Regions from separate parts of the Homo sapiens genome. Here regions 2 and 3 are each linked to region 1. Evidence: promoter capture Hi-C in 16 types of primary human blood cells and fetal thymus (Javierre and others, 2016). All regions are on one chromosome and are shown on one strand. The core of a region is centred on a gene start or on the middle of the fragment in contact, and the rest is flanking DNA. Distances in the headings are between cores, read along the strand shown.

Evidence for each region. The method cuts DNA at HindIII sites, captures the fragments that hold promoters and counts their contacts. A CHiCAGO score of 5 or more calls a contact.
Region 2: a contact is called between a fragment that was not itself captured here and the fragment with the promoter of NTAQ1 in region 1, in 1 of 17 cell types (neutrophils). The highest score is 9.6, in neutrophils.
Region 3: a contact is called between a fragment that was not itself captured here and the fragment with the promoter of NTAQ1 in region 1, in 2 of 17 cell types (M1 macrophages and naive CD8 T cells). The highest score is 6.0, in M1 macrophages.

Annotation. Positions count from the first base shown.
Region 1 is chr8:123,415,122-123,418,600 of GRCh38, forward strand. NTAQ1 (N-terminal glutamine amidase 1) reads left to right here and starts at 1,653. Exons shown (of 6, transcript NM_018024.3): 1 at 1,653-1,811. The coding sequence starts at 1,729. It also overlaps a transcript of ATAD2 not described here. RefSeq lists silencers at 1,232-1,711, 1,822-2,021, 2,342-2,391 and an enhancer at 1,825-2,419. The HindIII fragment of the contact is 17,257 bases long and covers 1-3,479 here.
Region 2 is chr8:124,478,297-124,481,775 of GRCh38, forward strand. All of the region lies in intron 1 of RNF139 (ring finger protein 139), which reads left to right. Among named protein-coding and RNA genes, the nearest start is that of RNF139, 5.2 kb to the left of the region's middle. The HindIII fragment of the contact is 4,337 bases long and covers 1-3,479 here.
Region 3 is chr8:124,455,599-124,459,077 of GRCh38, forward strand. No RefSeq gene overlaps it. Among named protein-coding and RNA genes, the nearest start is that of TYW2, 6.5 kb to the left of the region's middle. The HindIII fragment of the contact is 186 bases long and covers 1,447-1,632 here.

The DNA of each region.
Region 1 (3,479 bases), core at 403-2,902:
ATTTGTCTGAAAAAGACTGTATCTTTCCTTAATATATGATGCTTAGTTTCGCTGGATACAAAATTATTGGCTGATAATTGTTTTGTTTGAGGAGGCTAAAGATAGGGCCCCAATCCCTTCTAGCTTATAGGGTTTCCCACTCACTTTAAAGGAGAAATGTTTACCAGAGTTGTTATATAGCATAGAGGCTATGTGGAAGTTTGTATTAGGAGCTGAGAGGCAATAAAATTGGTAATTGACACAGGAACTGTGCTCCAAGTCTTTAGGATTTATCAGCTTTGAGACTGAAGAGATTGGAGAATCCAACTGTGGATGGCTAAAATCAATGTAAACATCTCAGTTTTTATAATGGGAAGTACCCTGATTAGCTAGCTATGCTCATTGCAAATATAAACAATTCAGAAGACTGTAAAGTGTAAAGACCTTGAAACTGAAAGTCCCTGATATTAATATCATTCATTCACCAGAGATAAACACTATTTTTTTTTTTTGAGACGGAGTCTCACCCTGTTGCCCAGGCTGGAGTGCAATGGCACCATCTCGGCTCACTGCAACCTCCGCCTCCCGGGTTCAGGCGATTCTCTTGCCTCAGCCTCCCGAGTATCTGGGATTACAGGCGCGCGCCTCCACGCCCAACTAATTTTTGTATTTTTAGTAGAGACGGAGTTTCACCATGTTGGCCAGGCTCGTCTCGAACCCCTGACCTCGTGATCCACCCGCCTCGGTCTCCCAAAGTGCTGGGATTACAGGCGTGAGCCACCGCACCCGGCCCTAAACACTATTTTAACAATATGGTGTCTTTTCTTCCAGACTGCCAGTAATTGAACAAAATATATGATTAACACAAAAAGGATACCATATGGACTCTTTAAACTTTTTTTTTTCAAATTTACTGTATCAGGGAATTAATATATCTTTTCGAGCCAATAGCTACAGGCCTTCCAATTTAAAAGATTAAGTTACAATAGAGTGAGATTTGGGGTGCTATCCCTTTCGGAAAGCGTCCTCGATGCGGTCATATTGGAATTAACCTCCACTCCCCTCTTCTCTGGGCTCCCGCAGACTCCAGGCTGAGTGCAGAAGCGTGGATTTTCACACCCAAACCTCTGTTATTTCAGTGTCTCACCTGGCTTCTCCACAGCGCAGAAGCTCAGCCCCTGGTTGGAAGAGCCTCCCCGCGGAGATTCACAGCAAAGCGCCATTCAGGGCCCAACTCCAAGCCCAAACCTAGCTCCTCCCCAAGCCGCCGCCAGAGACCCCTCTTCTCCCAAAGCTCACCGGGGCCCCGCCCCTGACTCCGCCCACCAGAGCCCGGTCCTCCAGTCCCGCCCCATCCCGGGCCCCACCCACCAGCCGGGCTCCGCCTACCCGGAAGCGCGCTGTCCTCCTCGTCCCGGGCTCCGCCCACCGGGAGTTCGCGCCACTCACCCCACCCCGGACCCGCCCACTTCGCTTGGGCTCCACCCTCCCAGGAACTGGCGCCGCTTGCCCCGAGCTCCGCCTACTTCGTCCCGGGCTTCCCGCGCCGGGAACTCGTGCTGCTAGTCCCGCCCTGGCCCCGCCCACCGCGCTACTGGCCCCACCACCCGGAAACTGCCCCGGCCCTCTCCCCCCGGGCTCCGCCCACCCCACGCCGGGAACCCACGCGGGCCACTACAAGCCCGCCCTTTCCTACGTCTGGTCCAGTCGGTCTTCCTCCGGCCCGGGCCCTGGCCCAGCTAGCCGGCCATGGAAGGTAATGGCCCCGCTGCTGTCCACTACCAGCCGGCCAGCCCCCCGCGGGACGCCTGCGTCTACAGCAGCTGCTACTGGTGAGGGGGCGCGGGCGCAGCCTCTGGGTCTCCCAGGCTCCCGGGCGGCGAGTCGCAACCGGGCCCCGCCTCTTCCCGGCCCCTCCTCGGGGGCGCTCCCGGCCTCTACCGGCGGGTTCTACAGTTTTGCGGGAGGAGGGAGCGGGAATGGCAGCTCTCGTCTCTTGAGTAGAGCGTGGGCTATTGGATGGGGTTGGGAATTCGTCCGGAATCATAGGGTCGATAGTGCATTACCTGTGCCTGGCGCTTGTCGGTTGGATTTGCTCAGCAGATCTCTGCTTCGGGGCCAGGAAGGGTGGAGCTCTGAAAATCTTTGGGGGTTACTCTGCTGAAGCCTGTGGGGTTTCAGACTGAGGTGAAGGTCATTTTAATTTTGTAAGAGAATGAAGGCACGGAGAGTTTTTCATACAGCACTTGCTATATGCCACGCGTTGTTCTGGGTGGTTTAGGTAAACTAAATCACTGAGCATCACAATAACCGTAAGAGGTAGGTATTGTTATCCCCAGTTGAAAGATGAGAGCACTGAAGCACAGAGGGCTGCAAGTAATTTGCGCAGGGCCACGTAGCTTGTGAATGAAGGAGTGGGGATTTACAGTCAGGGTCTGGCCCCGGAATCCACGCAGTGCACCCCTGTCCTAGGCCACCTCTGCAGCTGAAGTACCGCCCTTGCCTTAGTCCTCATACCTACTCTTTCCTGAGTAATGGCTTCTTCCCCAGCTTCTAGTCCTTGTACAGGAAACCTCAGTGCTATCTAAACCTACTCCTCCCCCTTCTGCTGGTCACTAAACCAATGCCACCAAGAGCTTAACATTTGTTCGGCCCTGATTGCATGTCAGGCTCAGTGGCAGGTGCTTCCATCGATGTCCAGGAGGTACCTTCTTTTATTATCGTTATCCTCATTTTACTAATAAAAAGACTGAGCCACAGAGAGGCTGTTCTGTGCCCCCAAATCACACATCTAGCAAGTGGTGGTGCTGAAACTGGAACCTCTTCGTGATTCTGAAGTTCATGCATCTTAACTACTGCACTATTTTTCTGTCCTGCCTCTCTTCTAAATCCCGTTAGTTCTCCTCCCTAATGTCCAGTCATTGTTTTATTCATTCATTCAATAAATGTTTATTAGGCACTTGGAGTATGTGGCATACTTCTGGGCACTGGGGATATAGCAGTGAACAAAATCGACAAATTCCCTCATGGATCCCTTGGTTCTTTCATTTTGAGAGAAAAGCAGATAAGGCCCGGTGCGATGGCTCACGCCTGTAATTCCAGCACTTTGGGAGGCCGAGGTGGGCGGATCTCTTGAGGCCAGGAGTCTGAGACCAGCCTGGCCGACATGCAGAAACCCTGCCTCTACTAAAAATACAAAAATTAGCCAGGTGTGGTGGCGTGCACCTGTAATCCCAGCTACTCGGGAAGCTGAGGCAGGAAAATCGCTTGAACCTGGGAGGTGGAGGTTCCAGTGAGCTGATGCCACTGCCCCTTCCTGCCTGGGCAACAGAGCAAGACTCCATCTCAAAAAAAAAAAAAAAATAAAAAGCCAAAAAAACAAGTAAACCATGTTTGGGTGATGTTAAATACTATGAGAAAAATAAGATAAAGGATGGTGACTTATCTTCTATTAGGATATTTTGAGAAGACATTGTTGATAAGGTGATATTTGAAAAGAG
Region 2 (3,479 bases), core at 569-3,068, 1.1 Mb after region 1:
AAAAGTACCTAGCCTTGTTTATAATTAAATACTGTCAAGACCGCTTACGGTGGCTCACGCCTATAATCCCAGCACTTTGGGAGGCTGAGGCAGGCAGATTGCTTGAGGCCAGGAGTTTGACACCAGCTTGGCCAAATGGCACAACCCGTGTCTACCAAAAAATTAGCCGGGTGCAGTGACTCCTGCCCATAGTCCCAGCTACTGTGGAGGCTGAGGCACGAGAATCTCTCGAATCGGGGAGGTGGAGGTTGCAGTGAGCCAAGATCGCGCCACTGCACTCCAGCCTGGGCGATAGAGCGAGACTGTCTCAAAAAAAAAAAAAAAGTCAAAAAAAATTTATCAGATTGGTGAAGAGTTCAAAGTTTTATTAGTTTTGCAAAGGTATTTACCTTTTTGAAATAGGTAAATTTATACAATTTTGGAAGACTTTTTTTTTTTTTTGAGACGGAGTTTGCTCTTGTTGCCCAGGCCGGAGTGCAATGGCGTGATCTCGGCTCACCACAACTTCCACCTCCCAGGTTCGGGCGATTCTCCGGCCTCAGCCTCCCGAGTAGCTAGGATGATTACAGGCAAGCGCCACCACCCCCGGCAAATTTTTTTCTATTTTTAGTAGAGACAGGTTTTCTCCATGTTGGTCAGGCTGTTCTCCAACTCCCGACCTCAGGTGATCTGCCCACATCGTCCTCCCAGAGTGCTGGGATTACAGGCGTGAGCCACCGTGCCTGGCCCGGAAGACTCTTAATTTCAGTGTAAAACCATTTGGCAGTATCAACTGTCATTTACAACTGACTTCTCAGTGTTTTGTTTTGTTTTTGAGACAGTCTCACTCTGTCACCAAGGCTGGAGTGCAGTGGCGTGATCTCAGCACACTGCAACCTCCACCTCCCAGGTTCAAGCGATTCTCCTGCCTCAGCCTCCCAAGTAGCTGGGATGCCTGGCTCGTACAACTTTTGACTCACAATTTCAATTCTAGGGAATTGGCCTAGAGAGATAGTTTGCTTAAGGACTATGGGCAAGCATTACTGGAAATAACAAAGCAACAAACTTAATCTAAATATGTATTGATACAAATCTGTTCATTGTATTAGGTCTAGCCATGCAATAAAGTTCTTGAAAGAAATGAGATAGCTATTTTTGGTGCCGAAAAAGACTTCAGAAAACCTCTGAAGTGAAAAAACAAAGCCGAAGTAATTATCACTGGCAGAGGAATAGACAGAGATTTCTCAACAGTGGCAGTATTGACATTTTGGACAGGATAATTCTTTGTTTGCGGATGGGAGCTCTCCTGTGCACTGTAAGATTTTTAGCAGCATCACTATCCCCTGCCCATTAGATGCCAGTAGCACCTTGCACCCCCACACCCCAGTGTGACAGCCAAAACTGTCCCTGGATATTGCCAAATCATGGTTGAGAACCATTGGGATAGACAAATAGATTAGTACTTAGCCTTATTTATAATTACATAGCCCAGAAACAGACACCAATGTATATATAGAAATAATGTGTTTCAGAGATAGAATTGAAGTACATTGAGGTAAATATGGACTGTTGAATTAATGATCATTTTGTTACACCTTTGGAAATAAATTATACTAGATGTCTACCTTATGTCAATATATAGACAGTCACTTCTAGGTTGAGCAGTGTAGTGAGACCCTGTCTCTGCAAAAATAAATATTTAAAATAATAGCCATACTTGGTGGTGGGTGCCTGTAGTCCTATCTTACTCAGGAGGCTGGGGTGAGAAGATCGCTTGGGCCTAGGAGTTCAAGGCTGCAAGTGAGCTATGATTGCATAACTGCACTCCAGCCTGGCTGGGTGACAGAGCAAGACCCTGTCTCTTAAAAAAAAAAAATAGTCATTTCTAAGTGTATTCTTACCTAGATGTATATGTAAATATGAAATGCAGAACTTTAAATTTTTAGAAAAAAATATGGAATATTTTATTTTTCCAATCTTAGATTAAGGAAGAAATCCTTAAAAATATATAAAAGCAAATACATAATGAAGATTGATAAACCGAATGATATTGAGGTTAAAAACCTATGTTAATCAAAAGATCGCACCACTGCACTCCAGCCTGGGCAACAGAGCGAGACTCCATCACTAAAAAAAAAAAAAAAAAAAAAAGGAAGTCAAATCTTGGGTAAGGGGGAACTACTGTACTTACATTTACCCATTTATTATAAAGGCAATTACAAAGGACACAGATGAATTAACCCGATGGAAGGAGATGTACAAGGTGAGACAAAGAAGGAGAGAAGAGGAGAAGGGGCGTGGAGCTTCAGTGTTCAGCTATCTGAGAGCTCACAGAACTCAGTCCTTTTGGGCTTCTATGGAAGTTCATTAAATAGGCAAGATTGATTAGATCACTAGTCATTGGTTTATGGACTCAAGTTTCAGCTTCTTTCTTCCCAGAAGTGGCGGCTGGGGGTAGGAATCAAAGTTATAACCCTTAATCACTGGGCTGATTCCCCTGGCTACCTAGCCCCCATCCTGAAGCTATCTAGGGGCCCCCAGGCACCAGTCATCTGATTATTGTACAAAACAGTCATCACTCCAGAGATTCCAAGGATTTTAGAAGCTATGTCAGAAAATGGGACAAAGACCAAATATTAATATTTTTTTTATGATATCACAGATGGGAAAGACAAACTAGAAAAACTTGCTTTAACTCTTCATTTAACACCTCTCTGTAGGGTTTGGCTTTTTAAAATCCATGTTCATATATTTTTGATAAAAGCATACTTATTATAAGTTTAGTTTAAAAGCAAAAGTTTAATTTTGTGTTAATACTTAGAATACCAGGTTTTTTTTCAACCTAAAATGAGAATCCAATAGAAATGTTTTCTTTATAATTTATCAAGTATACCAACAGATTAACAACATTTCAAGACACTTTGTTGTAAACTTCATTGCGGAAGGCTCCCTTGGGAGTAAGGTAGTAGTAACATTTATTTCTGTGCTTTTCCATATTTATTCTGTCAGGTATTGAAATGTTTTTCCACAGGTTGCTTTTTGTTTTAGAGGTATTTCGGGTACTTGGAGAATTGTAAATATTATGTTTTGTACCCTGATTTTTAGTCATAAGTTTCCAAAAGAGGGTAAGGGTATGAATAGACTTTACACATAAAAGAGTGAAACACTTTGTTATGTAACATGTATAGTAAGTTTTTATTTTTTCTTTTGTTTTTATTTGCCTGTTTTTGGTAATCCAAATTGAAAAGGCCTGAACTCTTTCATGAGTTGAGTTCATATATAGTTTCAAAGTTCCTGAATTGATTTGGATACCTGCCTCTTTTTGGCTACCTTGAAAACTCTAGTGAACTCTCTTAATCACTGGAGAATTGGACTGAGATCTCTGAGTTGTGATTTCAGTAAATTCTGTTCTCAAAATTTTTTATAAAGCAGCATTTATATACAGTCTTGATTACTTGTGCAAGTCACTTCCAAATCCTAATGAGAAACTGTCTCTGGAC
Region 3 (3,479 bases), core at 290-2,789, 1.0 Mb after region 1:
CATTAGGGTTAACAATTGTACATATCCTGTAGGGTAGTTCTTAGGTTTAAATGAATATATGTTAAGCTGTCATCATCGTGACTCACTGAGTGGTGAATACTTTTGTAAAATAAAAAGTATCTGAGACAGGTCTCAATCAGTTTAGAGGCTTATTTTGCCAAGGTTGAGGACACACATGGGAAAAAGACACAAGTCACAGTAGGATCTGTGGCCCACACATTTTTCCAAAGAGGATTTTGAGGGCTTCAGTATTTAAAGGGGAAAGTGAGGGTAGGAGGAGTAGGGGTAGAGGAAAAAAACAAAAAGGAGTGTAGGTAGTGAGTTAAGTGGTCACATTCTTGTGAGGCTTTGATTAGTGCTCACTGAATCCACATGTTACATGTGAAGTGGGGTAGAGGAACAGTCAATTAAGCATTTGTCAGGACTCAGTAAATATGCATATGTCTGAGGTGGGCAGAGGGATGGTTTCTAGTCTTGACTTTGTGCTGTATCTGTGAAGATAAGCTGTTTACATTGTCAAGGTAAGGGAGGCCAACTGAGGAGATATGGAATCTTCTATCTTGCGGCTGTGTTTAGGCAAAAGGAAAGGCAGTTTTTTTGCATGACTGAGTTTCCAGGCTTCACTTTTCCCTTTGGCATAGTAAGTTTGGGGTCTGACTTGTTTGTTTGTTTGTTTGTTTGTTTGAGATGGAGTTTCGCTCTTGTTGCCCAGGCTGGAGTGCAATGGCACGATCTCAGCTCACCACAACCTCCGCCTCCCAGGTTCAAGCGATTCTCCTGCCTCAGCCTCCCGATTAGCTGGGATTGTAGGCATGTGCCACCACGCCCGGCTAATTTTTGTATTTTTAGTAGAGACAGGGTTTCTCCATAGTCAGGCTGGTCTCGAACTCCCGACCTCAGGTGATCCACCCACCTCAGCCTCCCAAAGTGCTAGGATTACAGGTGTGAGCCACTGCGCCCGGCCTGGGGTCTGACATTTTATTTTCCTTTCACACTTCATTCTATCAGTCAGTCTTTGTATATGATGAACCACCACTTTCCAATTTGGCTGTGAGGGGTTGCTGTATGTCTGGCCTACTTGAGGCAGAATGTCATTATTTTGAAAAGCCATTCACTGATTAATTAGGAGATACTGTGTACTCTCTCCATTAAGCGCTGTGCTTGGAGCCAGTGACATAGAGATGAATAAAACTGAGTCCTGCCCACAATGGGATCACTATCTGGTGACACAGATACAGAGAAAACAATGTCAGTGCTGTTTACTGAGTGCTTAGATAGAAATAAGGGTTTTTATGGGCACACATAGGAGAGGCAGCCACCCTCATTTGAGGATGTGGGTTGAGGATTGAACAGGGTGACTAGGAAGGTAGGAGCAGGGATGCCTAAGGGAGTGTTAAAGAATGAGCAGGAGTTAATGTGTGGATGGAAGAACAGAAGCCTCCCTTAAGCTTTTTCTCTACTTAAGCATGTTCATTTACATTTTAGTTTTCTTTGAGGACTTGCTGGATTGCCCTGGTTGGGAAGAGGCATCTTATGGAACCAATGAAAAAAGACTGAAGGGTTCGGGAGGCTCATGGGGTCCTTGTCATCTCAGTCCAGCAATTTGTATAAGCTCTAAAGGCTTCCCATGCAAGCTTCAGTATTAGTTGCCAGTCAATGCAGCCACCTGATAGAGATATTGTGATTTTTAAAAAATAGTAATTTTTAAAAACTCCCTCAAACTTGAGCTGCTTTATTAACTTTGTAATTTAAAAAATTATATGAGTGCAGTAATATATGAGTACAATATGTGCCTTTGAAATACACAAATAGGCCAGGTGCGGTGGCTTATGCCTGTGATCCCAGCACTTTGGGAGGCTGTGGCAGGTGGATCACCTGAGGTCAGGAGTTTGAGACTAGCCTGTCCAACATGGCAAAACCCTGTCTCTACTAGAAATACAAAAATAAGCCAGGTGTGGTGGTGGGCTTCTATAATTCCAGCTACTTGGGAGGCTGAGGCAGGAGAATCTCTTGAACTCAGGAAGTGGAGGTTGCAGTAAGCCGAGATTGTGCCACTGCACTCCAGCCTGGGCAACAGAGCAAGACTCTGTCTCAAAAACAGAAAAACCATACACGAACAGAAATTAAAAATAGTAAGAAACAAATAGAATTTAAATTTCATTTTCTCCTACCCTGGGCATACATGTGACAAAATCCAATATATATCACTCTGAACAGCCTCAGGGTACAGCCACTTTATATTGCACAAGCTGTAAAAGTAGTCATTTTCAAACTCAACTATTATTTAAAATGATTACAAGCATTTAAAATGTTTAAAATAAAGATCCAACCCTGTTCACTTGGGAAACAGTTGTGGCAGTTCCTTAAAGTGTTGAACATAGGGTTAGCATATTACCCAGCAGTGAATTAACCAAATAAATAAGACATATGTGATAGAGGTATATATACCCAAGAGAATGCAAACATATGTCCACACAAAGGCTTGTGCGTGAATATTTGTAGCAGCATTATTCATAGACAAAATGTGGAAACAACCCAAAGTCCATCAACTGATGAGTGGTTAAACAAAATGTCATATATATACAATGGAATCTGTAAAAAGGAATGCAGTACTGATACATGGTTTCTGGATGAACCTTGAAAACATTATGCTGAGTGAAAGAATCCAGTTGCAAAAGGTCATTTATTGTATGGTCCCATTTATATGAAATGGCCAGAATAGGCAAATCTATAGAAACAGAAAGTAAGTTCCCAGGTGCTGGGGGGAGTGGAGAATGGAGAATGACTGCTAATAGGTACTGGGTTGATTTTGTGGGAAGATGAAAATGTTCTGAAAATAGATGGTGGTGATGATTGCACAACTCTATAATATATGAACCAGCCATTTAATTGTATATTTTTAAAGGGTGAATTTCCCTACTTGCTTCAGCAACATATATACTAAAAGGGTGAATTTTATAGTATGTGAATTATATCTCAATAAAGCTGTTAAAAAAAAAAAAGCAAAGAACTTGGAAACACTTCCTACAGGAAGGAACACCAGAGCTGCATTTTATTATTTTTAGGGTCTTGCTTTGTTGCCCAGGCTGGAATGCAGTGGCGCAATCAAGGTTCACTGCAGGCTGGGTGCAGTGGCTCACACCTGTAATCCCAGCTCACGCCTGTAAACTTTGGGAGGCTGAGGTGGGCAAATCACACCTGAGGTCAGCAGTTTGAGACCAGCCTGGCCAACATGGTGAAATCCTGTCTCTAATAAAAGTACAAAAATTGGCCAGGTGCGGTGGCTCATGCCTGTAATCCCAGCACTTTGGGAGGCTGAGGCGGGTGGATCATAAGGTCAGGAGTTCCAGACCAGCCTGGCCAAGATGGTGAAACCCCATCTCTACTAAAAATACAAAACTTAGCCAGGGGTGGTGGTGGGCACCTGTAGTCCCAGCTACTCGGGAGGCTGCGGCAAGAGAATCGCTTGAACCCAGGAG